Linked DNA regions of Homo sapiens: regions 1, 3 and 4 are each linked to region 2. Evidence: promoter capture Hi-C in human tissues and cell types (Jung and others, 2019). All regions are on one chromosome and are shown on one strand. The core of a region is centred on a gene start or on the middle of the fragment in contact, and the rest is flanking DNA. Distances in the headings are between cores, read along the strand shown. Region 1 overlaps ESCO1 (establishment of sister chromatid cohesion N-acetyltransferase 1). Region 2 holds the start of ABHD3 (abhydrolase domain containing 3, phospholipase). Region 3 overlaps GREB1L (GREB1 like retinoic acid receptor coactivator). Region 4 overlaps MIB1 (MIB E3 ubiquitin protein ligase 1).

What was found. Contacts are between HindIII fragments. The study calls those that stand out against the background at their distance.
Region 1: a contact is called between a fragment that was not itself captured here and the fragment with the promoter of ABHD3 in region 2, in 2 of the 25 tissues and cell types used here (aorta and lymphoblastoid cells).
Region 3: a contact is called between a fragment that was not itself captured here and the fragment with the promoter of ABHD3 in region 2, in 2 of the 25 tissues and cell types used here (heart right ventricle and pancreas).
Region 4: a contact is called between a fragment that was not itself captured here and the fragment with the promoter of ABHD3 in region 2, in 1 of the 25 tissues and cell types used here (heart right ventricle).

Annotation. Positions count from the first base shown.
Region 1 is chr18:21,541,070-21,544,401 of GRCh38, forward strand. The region is part of intron 8 of ESCO1 (establishment of sister chromatid cohesion N-acetyltransferase 1); the gene reads right to left. Among named protein-coding and RNA genes, the nearest start is that of ESCO1, 58 kb to the right of the region's middle. The HindIII fragment of the contact is 5,589 bases long and covers 1-3,332 here.
Region 2 is chr18:21,703,482-21,706,372 of GRCh38, forward strand. ABHD3 (abhydrolase domain containing 3, phospholipase) reads right to left here and starts at 1,293. Exons shown (of 9, transcript NM_138340.5): 1 at 1,023-1,293; 2 at 103-266. The coding sequence starts at 1,184. It also overlaps a transcript of MIB1 not described here. RefSeq lists enhancers at 21-170, 1,631-1,700 and a silencer at 691-1,460. The HindIII fragment of the contact is 17,143 bases long and covers 1-2,891 here.
Region 3 is chr18:21,484,431-21,487,617 of GRCh38, forward strand. It overlaps GREB1L (GREB1 like retinoic acid receptor coactivator), which reads left to right. Exons shown (of 33, transcript NM_001142966.3): 18 at 1,190-1,323. Among named protein-coding and RNA genes, the nearest start is that of GREB1L-AS1, 35 kb to the left of the region's middle. The HindIII fragment of the contact is 4,406 bases long and covers 1-3,187 here.
Region 4 is chr18:21,847,879-21,850,888 of GRCh38, forward strand. MIB1 (MIB E3 ubiquitin protein ligase 1) reads left to right here. Exons shown (of 21, transcript NM_020774.4): 17 at 1,318-1,510. Among named protein-coding and RNA genes, the nearest start is that of MIR133A1HG, 18 kb to the left of the region's middle. The HindIII fragment of the contact is 5,232 bases long and covers 1-3,010 here.

The DNA of each region.
Region 1 (3,332 bases), core at 626-3,125, 160 kb before region 2:
GGAACAAAAATTCTAGGTAATAAGCTTGGTATATGTAACAATTTAAATTAAAATATTTAAAATCCAAAATTTGTTTACATAATAGAGTACCCAAGTTAAAATTCAGATGATTAAAATTATGATTGGTAAAATGTTCTCAAGATTTGAAAAGAAAGGAGCAGAAACAATAGCCACAGAAGTCCTTTTTTCATCTAAGAAACTAAATCTGTAGTTCTTCAACGTAAATAAGGTTTTAAAAAAGAAACTTAAGGCCGGGTGCAGTGGCTCACGCCTGTAATCCCAGCACTTTGGGAGGAGGGCAGATCACAAGGTCAGGAGATTGAGACCATCCTGGAAACCCCGAATCTACTAAAATACAAAAAATTATTGTATTTTTAGGCGGGTGTGGTGGCACGCGCCTGTAGTTCTGGCTACTCAGGAGGCTGAGGCAGGAGAATTGCTTGAACTCGGGAGGTGGAGGTTGCAGTGAGCTGAGTTCGCGCCATTGCACTCCAGCCTGGGTGACAGAGCGAGACACTGTCCCAAAAAAAAAAAAAAAAAAAGAAAGAAAGTAAATCTGAATCATATAGAGATCTGAATATAGGTAAACAATTTTTAGAAGATTTACAAGACATCACCTCTTTAAAAACAAATTTCTATTACTAATGTTACTTTATGAAAAAGCTTTTAAATTTATGAACCTATTTTTAATAAAATGAAAAGAGATTTTCACTTTAAAACATCGAAAAGACCTAAAAATGTAAGTAACCTCAAGTTATAAGAAAACCATTCTTCCTGAACTGAATCATCTAAAGACAGTTCCATAAACTATTTTCCTATTAAATGCCTTTGAAAACAGTAATACTGGTTTCATGTCATTATATTGCATTATAGACATTAGACAAATTATTTTGCTTTACTAATTTTTGAGTGCAAAACTTTCTCTTGAAACAACTTCAGACTTGTATGTTCATGCCGAAATTTTTATCACAATTCCATTTGATATAATTTTATGTTTTAAATAGTACCTTTTTTTCATGTACTAAATAAAAGCCCTTTAAGAAGCAAAGGCTGCAAAAGGATACTTAGTATTGCTTAGATTTCTAATGTTCATGAAAACAGCAAGTTTTATTTATTAATGTAATTTACTTATTTGAGACAGAGTCTCACTCTGTCACCCAGGCTGGAGTGCAGTGGCAAGATCACAGCTCACAGCAGCTTCAAACTCCTGGGGCTCAAGCAATCCTCTTGCTTCAGCCTCCCAAGTAGCTGGGACTACAGGCGTGCACCACCATGCCAAGCTAAGAAAGCATATTTCAGTGAAAACTTTTAAGTAACTCTAGAGTAAAAGTTCAGGGTTTAGATCCTTGTTCTTGGTAGTTACTAGATGCATGGCCTTAGGCAAATCACTGGAACTCTGATTCTGTTTCCTGATCTTAGCATTCTAAAAAATGGCTATCATCACCTCCATCACTTGGGTAGGTACGAGGGTGCTGTATTTAAGATGACTGCTCAAAGAGTAGCCACTAAGTAACTCTTAGCAACTTCCATTCTCCCTTCTTACTAGTATCAAACTAAGATCAATGCACTAATCTAACAAAACAGTCAATCAATAAATGTTCCCAAGGGTAAATACAGCAATAAATTCAAATCATAGGCAAATAAAAGATGAAAGAAACAAGTTAGCTAATATTTGTTCAAATAACATACTCAAGACATATCTATGCCTCAACTACAGTTAACTGCTAGTCACAATAACCACATGACCCTCCTTACTTCAGAGAAACTTAGAGGCGATAAAGTCCATCCAATGCTTAAAATTAAGGCAGAGGAGAAGCAGGGTTCAGGAAAGAGTGCATGCAATTTAGAAGAATAATCAAATAGCCACAACGTTTTTGCAAAGAAATAAATTCCAATGCAGTGCACTTACACTTCTGACCTTTAGCTCCAACATATTTCAGGACTAGTATGTTACACATAACCCTCTGCTAACAAGTAGTATTTTCCAAAACCCATTTTTTCTTACTTCATCCATTTCTGCTTCATGAAAAGCAGAAAACTTTATATTCCTAATTTGTATTTCTAACAGCAAGAAATTATTATTATTTTATTTATTTTTTTTTTTGAGACAGTTTCAATCTTGTTGCCCAGGCTGGAGTGCAATGGCGCAATCTCGGCTCACTGCAACCTCCGCCTCCCGGGTTCAAGCAATTCTCCTGCCTCAGCCTCCCGAGTAGTTGGGATCACAGGCATGTGCCACCACGCCGAGCTGATTTTTTTTGTATTTTTAGTAGAAACAGGGTTTCTCCATGTTGGTCAGGCTGGTTTCGAACTCCCGACCTCAGGTGATCCGCCAGCCTTGGCCTTCCAAAGTGTTGGGATTAAGAAATTATTACTCTTTTCTCCTTGCTATTGGAGTTACTCTAAACTGTACAGTCTAAAGAATGGATTTCTCCTTTTTCCATCAAAAAAAGGATTACAATTGGAAACAAAATACACTGAGTGGTAAATACACTGAGTATATACAATGATCAAAATTCAAACCAAACACTTAAGATGTGTAGATTTAATTGTATAAATAATACCCCGACTTTAAAAGTTCACATTAATCACAATTTCATGAAAAGGTTGAATGAGAATATACATTTGAAGGAATATTTGAAGAAATAAAACCAACAACCAGCTTTTCAAAAAATAAACAAATATTACAAGGGAAAAAAACAGAACCAGGGAGAACTTTGGGATTAAAAGATACTAAAGGGACATAACAACCAATGTAATATATAAACCCTAATTCAAACAAATAAGCAACATAGGAAATCATGAGCTATTTGGGAAGCTTTGAACTCTGATAGAAAACTTGATTTCAACAATTAATTCATTTATTGAAGGTGTAGTTATATTCTTTAAGGTACTTTTATGTTTAAAAAAGGAATAATCTTTGGCCAAGCGCAGTGGCTCACACCTGCAATCCCAGCACTTTGAGAGGCTGAGGAAGGCGGATCACAAGGTCAGGAGATCGAGACCATCCTGGCTAACACGGTGAAACCCTGTCTCTACTAAAAATACAAAAAAATTAGCTGGGTGTGGTGGTGCACGCCTGTAGTCCCAGCTACTTGGGAGGCTGAGGCAGGAGAATTGCTTGAACCCAGGGGACAGAGGTTGCAGTGAGCCGAGATCGCGCCACTGCACTCCAGCCTGGGCGACAGAGCGAGACTCCAACTCAAAACAAACAAAAAAGGAGTAATCTTCATCTTTAAGCAATACATATTTAGAGGTGGGGCATGGTGGCTCACACCTGTAATCCCAGCACTTTTGGGGGCCAAGGCAGGCGGATTACCTGAGGTCAGAAG
Region 2 (2,891 bases), core at 43-2,542:
TTCCTAAAGCAGATTCTATTAACCAAGAACTGGGAATAAGCAAGCAAGCAAACAAACAACCTGTGATTTTGCAGAAATGACTGAAAACGGAAATTCACTTACTTCCTGTACTGCACCGGGGGCTTCGAAGTGATGAAAGGTCTAAGCAGGGTCTGTCCTCGACCCTCCCAGCACCAGACCGTCGGGTAGTACGTTTCTGTAACCACGGGACAGTGGTCTTGAAGGAAGCGGCTGAAACTCTCACCCCCGGTCACTAACTGGGGTTTCTGAAGGGAAAAGCAGTATCAGAGAAGGGCCCAGAGCAAAGTTTCTGCCAACCGTAAACCAGAAACCGGCAAAGACTTGTCGCTCGCGCGCGCGCTTCCTCCGATTACAACTCTTTCTGGAGGGCTGACGCAAAAAATTCACAGTCACAGAGGACTGAAACGGGGGTTTCGCCAATGCCCCGAGGGGAAGGCGAGAATCGCGATAAGGGAGTTTGTTTGTTTTTAACTCCGCCTCCCGGGTTCAGGGGATTCTCCTGCCTCAGCCTCCCGAGTAGCTGGGATTGCAGGCGTCCGCCACCACGCCCGGCTAATTTTTTGTAATTGTAACGGGGTTTCACCATTTTGGTCAGGCTGGTCTCGAACTCTTGACCTCAGGTGATCCACCCGCCTCGGGCTCCCAAAGTGCTGAGATTACAGGCGTGAGCCACCGTGCCCTGCCCGGAGTCATTTTCAAAAGCGCCACGGCGTTCCCGAGTGCGCCGCCGGCTTCGCGATCGGTGACCGGGCAGCGCCGCAGCGCAGAAGTCAGCCGGGTTCAGGCTGCGCTCCGAGGACCACCCGGCCGGGACCCCCAGGGGGCGGGCGAACGGGCGGGGCCTGTTGGCTTTCCCGCGCGCGCTGGGGGCTGCCGCTCGGGAGCAGCTCGCCGCCTATCCCCGGGGCTGCCGACCGCCCCTGGCCGCGCAGCCTCGCGCCGCGCCTGCTACCCTAGCTCCTGGCCCAGCAGCCCGCGGCCCTGCGCCACCCCCGGCTCACCTTGGCAATGCTGCTCAGGTAGTAGAAGGCATAAGCGACGCTGAAGCCCAGGATAAGGGATAAGCCCACCCCCGAGCCGAAGAACCCCACCCGGACTTGGTGTTCCAGGTAGAGGGAGAGCTCCCGGGACAACATCCGCAGGTCCATGGCCAGGCGCTGCATGGCCCCCGAGCGCGGCGCGCGGGTCCTGCGGCGGGAGGAGAGCCGGCTGGCGAGCGGGCGAGAGCGGGCGAGAGCGGACGCGGCGCCGCTGCCTACTCCCGACCACAGTGTCTCCTGCCTGGCGGAGCGCGGCTTCCGACAACGGGCGGGGCGGAGCGGCCCAGGGAGGCGTAGCCCGAGACTCCAACGCCGCCCGCTCCGCCCCGGCTTCCTGGAGCCGCCCCCACTGCCAGCCACTCAGGAACCTTCCAGAAGCGCGGTTCCAAGACCGGCCACCGGGAGGGCGGGCGGACTGGGTTCTCCCAGCTAGGTCGCAGTGGGCGATGGGGATCCCCAAGGGTGGGCCGAGAGCTGACGGATCGGCAGCGCTGGTTAAGGCCCCGCACCTGCAGCCCCAGTGACCTTGAACGATTCCGCTCTGCGGCGGGTGTCCCTAAACTAGCAGTTTAGGGTGTCAGGTAAGCGTGCCTTGCATTCAAAGATTTGGGGAGTTAATGCCAAAGATATGTTAGCAGGTAAGAATCCCACATCCTCTAGACGTTTGCGTTGGTCCTCAAGACTATGGAAAGAGAAAAAATATTCTATGAGCATTCAACAGTGAGGACATCATACTCGACTCTGAATCACTCTGTGAATCTTTTTAGTTGCTAAGTGTCACTTAAATGAGAAGTGGTCTCTGAAAATAAATGAAAAGGTCAAGAATAGCAACCGGGATTCAATTGTTAAAAGCCTATTTGTGGTTCATTAATGCTTTGAATTTAGAGACTTATGGAAATTCACACCGATTACCTAATGTACAGACAAGAAACCATTTATGAAGTAGGGTCTCCTAGGCTTATTTATGGCAATATGATAAATCAGGATACTTATGGTTATCTGAAATGGTTAGAATTTAATAGCCTATTCCTACTCTTATGAACTCCTTCCTCAGAGAGGTAGGAAGAATGGCAAGACTTAAACAGACGAAAGAAGGGAAAGTGCTGTCTAGATTATGAAAAATGCCAAAGGATTGTAAATTAATGATGTAATTTAGATGGGGACATGAGACGGACCAGAAGTGAGCAATTTATTTGGCTCCGATTTGGTCATTGCAACTTGGTGGTTGGCTGCAGCACCCAAAATAATTCAATTACCTTTACTGAGCCTGTTTTTTTCTTGTTTTAATAATCTGTAGCGTAACAATTTCTACTTTATAGAGTTCCCGAGAGGACAAGATAGTGTATATACTGGACTCCCCGTGAGCAGAAGTAATTTTCACGCTCTGGCTCTCACACCTGAGCACACATAGCAAACGTGAATGCATATGCTGGTTGCCATACTTGAAACTTCATAGCATTCTTCATAACCCCTGCACCAGCCTTCTGCACTACCTACCAATAAATGCATGCGTATTTCAGTTTAAGTTTGTTCTGTTTTGTTTTGTTTTGTTTTTTGAGACAGAGTTTTGCTCTTGTTGCCCAGGCTGGAGTGCAATGGCGAGATCTCGGGTCACTGCAACCTCCACCTCCCGGGTTCACGTGATTCTCCTGCCTCAGCCTCCCGAGTACCTGGGATTACAGGCATGCACAACCACACCCAGCTAATCTTGTATTTTCAGTAGAGACAGGGTTTCACCATGTTGACCAGGCTGGTCTGGAACTCCTGATCCACTCGCCTCGGCCTCCCAAAGTGCTGGTGAGAGGTGACAACGTGCTAGCAGCCCTCGCT
Region 3 (3,187 bases), core at 662-3,161, 220 kb before region 2:
CGCCCAGCCTTTATCTTATTACATTTTTTAAAGCTGCCTTATTTCCTTTATGAGTTGGAGAGCACTTAAATAAAAATGTCAACACATAATAAATAACAAAAGTGGGCCAGGCGCAGTAGCTTACGCCTGTAATCCCAGCACTTTGGGAGGCCAAGGCGGGCGGATCACCTGAGTCCAGGAATTTGAGACCAGCCTGGCCAACGTGGCGAAACCCCGTCTCTCCTAAAAATGCAAAAAAAGAAATTAGCTGGGCGTGGTGGTGGGTGCCTGTAATCCCAGCCACTCGGGAGGCTGAGGCAGGAGAATCGCTTGAAACCGGGAGGCAGAGGTTGCAGTGAGCCAAGATCGCACCATTGCACTCCAGCCTGGGCAACAAGAGCAAAACTTGGTCTCAAAAATAAAATAAAATAACAAAAGTGAGACCAAATGGCACAGGCAACATGACAGCAAGCAGTGACTGTAAAAAACTAATGTAGAAAAGATGCAAAAGAAAGCTACAAACAAAAACAGATTCATGAACTCAAAAAGCTTATTTAATATCGTAGAGCTTCTGAGTTTAAGGATAAGCAACTTGTCACACTTCTCAAGATCCTCTGAGGGCATCCTTATGTCACATCCTAAAATAGCTATTCATTTTCATAGTGATGACTGACTCATCAAGAGGGGGCTACGTTAAATACTGTGGATCCTGTTAAAGGAAAGCATATATTCCATTTTTAAAGTAAAATTTGTTTGCAAAGATAAGCTTTTATGAGTTATCATTATGAAATGATGTCAGAAAAGTTAAGGTTTCTGTAACAGAGGAGTTTGTCAATCTCTAGAGCGTTCTGAGGAAAGCCTATTTATCTGTATAGAGAACTACTTCCAGCAGGGAAAAAGGCTGAGAATTGAGGCTGTCTGACCTTGTGTATCCCAACAAAAAAAAAAGAAAACAAACCATGTGCCTGAAGGAAGTGTGTCAACTTTCCACTAATCACATATTCAGTTCCTTTGAAATTAAAAGAAGTTTCACTTAGTGCCTCAGAGATGACTGCAGAGTTGGTGTCGGGTTACATAATGAAACAGTATTTTTTCTTACTTGTCAGGAAATAACCTCTTACAGCGGTCATTTCTGTAAACCCCACTTTCTGGAAAACAAGACACACTGTATCCTGTCCTCATTGGGTTTTTGCTCTGTATTTTGAACCAGGAGGACGTGGGCTGCGAGGAGAAGCTGTACTTTGGCTTGAGTGAGTACAGCAAGTCTCTGCAGTGGGGGATCACGAGCCCACTTCTGAGATGTGACGAGACTTTTGAAAAAATGGTGAACACACTCTTGGAGAGGTAAATAGTAAATAAGGCCTTCTGCTCTTCTCTCTAGCTGTACTTGCAGATCTAAAATAGCCAAAAGCCTTTTGTGTCAGTGCTACGGGGTGTTTGATGGAGCCCTTGCAGATGACGTGCAAAGGCCAAATTAAAACAGCCTTTCCTAAGATGCCCTACTATTGTTTTATGTGATCATCCAAGATCAATAAAGGAAAATACAACCAAAGTGGGCCATTGCACTACTTTTCATGCTGAGTCAGCTCCCGGTCATGCTTCACTGCTATCATCAGGAGATGGATAGGGCAGAGAGGGATTTGCTTATTCAAGACCCGCTTCTGGCTGGGCGCGGTGGCCCACGCCTGTAATCCCAGCACTTTGGGAGGCCGAGGCGGGCGGACCATGACATCAGGAGATCGAGACCACCCTGGCTAACACGGTGAAACCCCATCTCTACTAAAAATACGAAAAATTAGCCAGGCGTGGTGGCAGATGCCTGTAGTCCCAGCTACTTGGGAGGCTGAGGCAGGAGAATGGTGTGAACCCGGGAGGTGGAGCTTGCAGTGAGCCGAGACCACGCCACTGCACTCCAGCCTGGGTGACAGAGCGAGACTCCGTCTCAAAAAAAAAAAAAAAAAGTCCCACTTCTCTGAGCTCCGGCCTCTCCTACCCTACACCTCAGACTTTGACATTTTTCCCTCTTTTCTCCCCTGTCCACCACAGGCAAGGACCCTAAGATGATTCAGTAAAAACTAAACTTTACTATGAGAGATTTGAAGTATACACTGGAAGAAATTAAAGAGCAATCAGATAATTGAGGTGAATTCAGTTCTTGGGGCTCCTCCTCCAGTCCCTGGCCTTAGGGATTAAGGAACATAACTGCTGTCTTTTCTTCCCTTTTCTAAAAAAAGAAAAAAAAAATCCCCATTTTCAGATTAAACTCTGAAAGAGTTTTTTTCCCTCTGTGACCTTGAATCATAGATTCAGAGGTAGGTAGAGACATTAGAATTTACCTAACCTAATAAAGGTCCCTTTCTGCCCTCCACAATATTCTGTTTGATCATCCAATGTTGGGGCGATTGGGCTTTATTTTATGGGGCAAATTCTAATTTTTAGTAGCTATAGTTCTTAGAATGGCTTTAATTGATCATATTATTTAACAGCTATTTAACAAACCTGTCCATAATTTTGCTAAGAAAAAAGAAAAGGAAATTAAAATGAGGACCTATGGATGCATCCTATTCAGTAGATTATAATACTGCATCCGGAAAGAGCACAGGCTCAAGTACGGTTTGATATTTTTGCAGCTGTTGGATTTGGAAAGTCTTAACTGACACTGTGACATTAATCCTTTCACAGCACATGTAGTCTTAATTTTCCAAAATCATTCCATGAGTACCCCCTTTAAGCATTCCTACCCACCTGTTACATCCACCAGCTTGAAATGCATCTTCTTTTTCTGGTAACATCATTCAGAGTTTCCTAACTTTTATTTTAAATGATGATCTCATCAACTTTCTATTGTAGTTTTGTGCTACAAAAGTTGTAAGTATAGTTTAATGCAAGCATGACAGATTGGAGAAACTGTGCACTTCTGACTTCATGATTCTTCCAGAGTATGAAACAGAAATGCCAGATATCAAAGTTACCATTTATTCTAACTTTGGCTTTTCTACGTGGCCCAGCAAAAAGCATTAAGCTTGAAACATAGATTATCTATACTTATTTCCTCCAACCCAGTCACCCCAGCCTAATAGTAGCTATGACTTACTGAATACCTGAAGGGACCAGCCCAGGATTTATTGAACTGAAGGATTTCTTCATTTCTACCCAGCCAGCTAAATCCTTGCAATGTGTGAAGACCTTGCTAGAGGCTGGATAAAAT
Region 4 (3,010 bases), core at 83-2,582, 140 kb after region 2:
ATGAGATTTTATAGATGTACAAAAAGGTACACATCTCATTGCTTTTTTAAATCTGAACAGTGCTGTGCAACTGTTGTTGCCCTTTGTACCTGGTTCTTGTCACTGAAATTTCAGTAGCTGTTCCTTAACCTTAGTGTTCCTTGCCTCTCTCATAATTTATGTGTAGTGATGAAATGTCATCTCTTTGGAATCTGTGCATAGAACTGTGTTATAGAGGAAATTAATATAGTGAGGTATATACATTTCTTTAAGTGTATTGTTAAGGAACATGAAATTCTATTACAAAAAGAGAATGCATCGGCCGGGCGTGGTGGCTCACACCTGTAATCTGAGCACTTTGGGAGGCCGAGGCAGGTGGATTGAGGTCAGGAGTTCAAGACCAGCCTGACTAACATGGTGAGACCCTGTCTCTACTAAAAATACAAAAACTAGCTGGGCGCATGCCTATAATCCCAGCTACTTGGGAGGCTGAGGCAGGAGAATTGCTTGAACCGGGAGGCGGAGGTTGCAGCAGTGAGCCGAGATCACACCACTGTACTCCAGCCTGGGCAACAAGAGCAAAATTCTGTCTCCAAAAAAAAAAATCTATAAATATAAAGATATAAGGCACTATAATTATTGCAGTAATAACTTTTAAACAATGGAGTCTAAGGTGGACCCTCTGTGTACGTGTTGTGTACGTGTTCGTGAGTTTCTGAAGATTGTGGTAGAAACAGGGCATCCCTTTTCTGTAGCTGTAGGTGGTCATATGTATTTCTGTTCCTTGTATCTGTGTTTACGGATGCAGTCTATCTTTCTGTAATATAATTTTATGTTCCTTAAGGATACACTTAAAAATGTCAAAACAGCAGCTGAAGTGTTAAATTTTCCAAAGTGCCCTATCTGTTGTGGACTCTGATGATGCTTTGTTCCGTCTTTAGTAAGGCAACTAACATGGGGGCTAGTGAGGATTTTTGTTTTATTCCTATGCCTTCCTCTGCTGGTTCTATATAGATACAACAGGTTCTGAGCAAAATTTTGTTTATGCTAAGTTTTTTTTTTAATTGCTGTTTTTTATTTCATTGTTAGAAGATTCACCCTTTTCCATTGGGTGAGTGAGTGTTCAGTTTGAAGTTTGAATTGTGTTAGAAGTATCTAAAGATGCAGAGACGCATATAAACACAAAAATTTAATGTTTCACATACAGATGTTAAAGCTTAATTTTTTAATATGACTAGTTTTTATGTATACTAATGATGCTCCAGGTATATTTTAAAACATTTTAATTAGTGAATTTGTAATAAGATAGGCTTGATTTGAAATACTTTCTTTTATTAGTGGTCAAGTGGGTTCTCGGAGTCCTTCTATGATTAGTAATGATTCTGAAACCTTAGAAGAGTGTATGGTGTGCTCAGATATGAAGAGAGATACTCTTTTTGGTCCATGTGGACATATTGCTACCTGTTCTTTATGTTCTCCACGTGTCAAGAAATGCCTCATCTGTAAAGAACAGGTTCAATCCAGGACAAAGGTAAGATATATTTAATATAGTATTTTGTCATTTTATGAAGTTGAGACTAGAATTAATGATAAATAAGATTTAATGACATCATGCGTCTGTGTAATTTTGCTCTTCCAAACAATGATTTAAATATAGGAATATATAATTTCTGCATTTATCAGATCAGAATTTCTTATTTTATTGCTTGTTTACAGTCTTGCTTATTAATGTACTGATTTGCTAAGTTAATTATTGTTTGAGTTTATTGATACACCATTTTTACTGTCAAATTTTTTTAGCTCTTAATGTGTTTCCTTCATTATATCTAAAGTATGGTAAAGTTAAAATTATCTACCATTTTGCTTTCAAAGCTCCCTATAACCTAAGGATACATTTACTTCCACTTTGGATTATAGTTACTTATATGTTGCACTTTTTTTGGAGTACAAAAACTGTTTTGCATTCATGTTTGTAAAATAATTCATTTTTTTGGTAGAATGTCACACATTCTAGATTTGATTGTTCTATCGTGGTGTTGTTTAACTTGCTATCTTCTGTGTTTCCTGTAAGCTGGAAGTTAGATGTAATAGTTTGATCAGGGTCAGCTTAACATTTTTGGCAAGAAAGCTTCACAGTTGGTGCCACACACTTTACATTATGTCCCATCTGGAGGCAAATAAAGTCTTGTCTCCCTGTAATTAGTGATGGCCAAAATCTATATCTACTCTGAACTTTTTCTCTCTCCTGACTCCTTTTGCTTTTTGAGAAGTATAGTTCTTTTCTGAGTAACTTAGTGCTTTATTATAACTGTACCAGATTACTAATTTTGGTTTACTGAAATAATTTATTTTTTAGTTTTTCAATACTCAAATGTGTGTGTGTATTGCATATAAAGTGAAATTTGAGTTTCTTACAAATGTTTCTCTCAAGGTGAATAGTTTAAACCAAAGAGCATGTTGGTTTTGAAGTAAAAACTCATGGAGTTTATACTCTTTTTCCATTCCCTTCTTTTTATAATCTTTATTTCTGTCTTGCTATTTATTTTTTCTTAAGCTATTCATTAACCATCATTAATAAGAAAGGAGCTGTTAGTAATTATCATAATGAATTAGCTGGCAGGGACTTAAAAGGTGTTGCCTTGCCCCTGCTTCTTCTACTTTCAACCTTCTAAGCCTGGATGGTTTTTATGATCCAAATTAATGTATCTTTCGTAGAATTTTTGGCACAGGAAAAAGCACAAGGAAGTTATTTTTGATAGGAATACTGGAGTGCTTGTATGTATGTAGCTGCTTGATCAATTCATAAAGCTGAGAAGGGTGAACTAATAGCACTTATTGTGTGCCAGACACTGTGTTGGCATTTCATTTGTATTAAATAGGTGTTAACCCTGCTTAATAAATTAATGTGGATCATTCTACTTAGCATTTATAATTCGCTTTAGCTACCTGTTTACGAAGTAATAGTTTGGGAAAGAATACAAAAGAAGAACAAAAATTTAAGCCATTCTTTTGTCTTTAGATTGATCTGTGT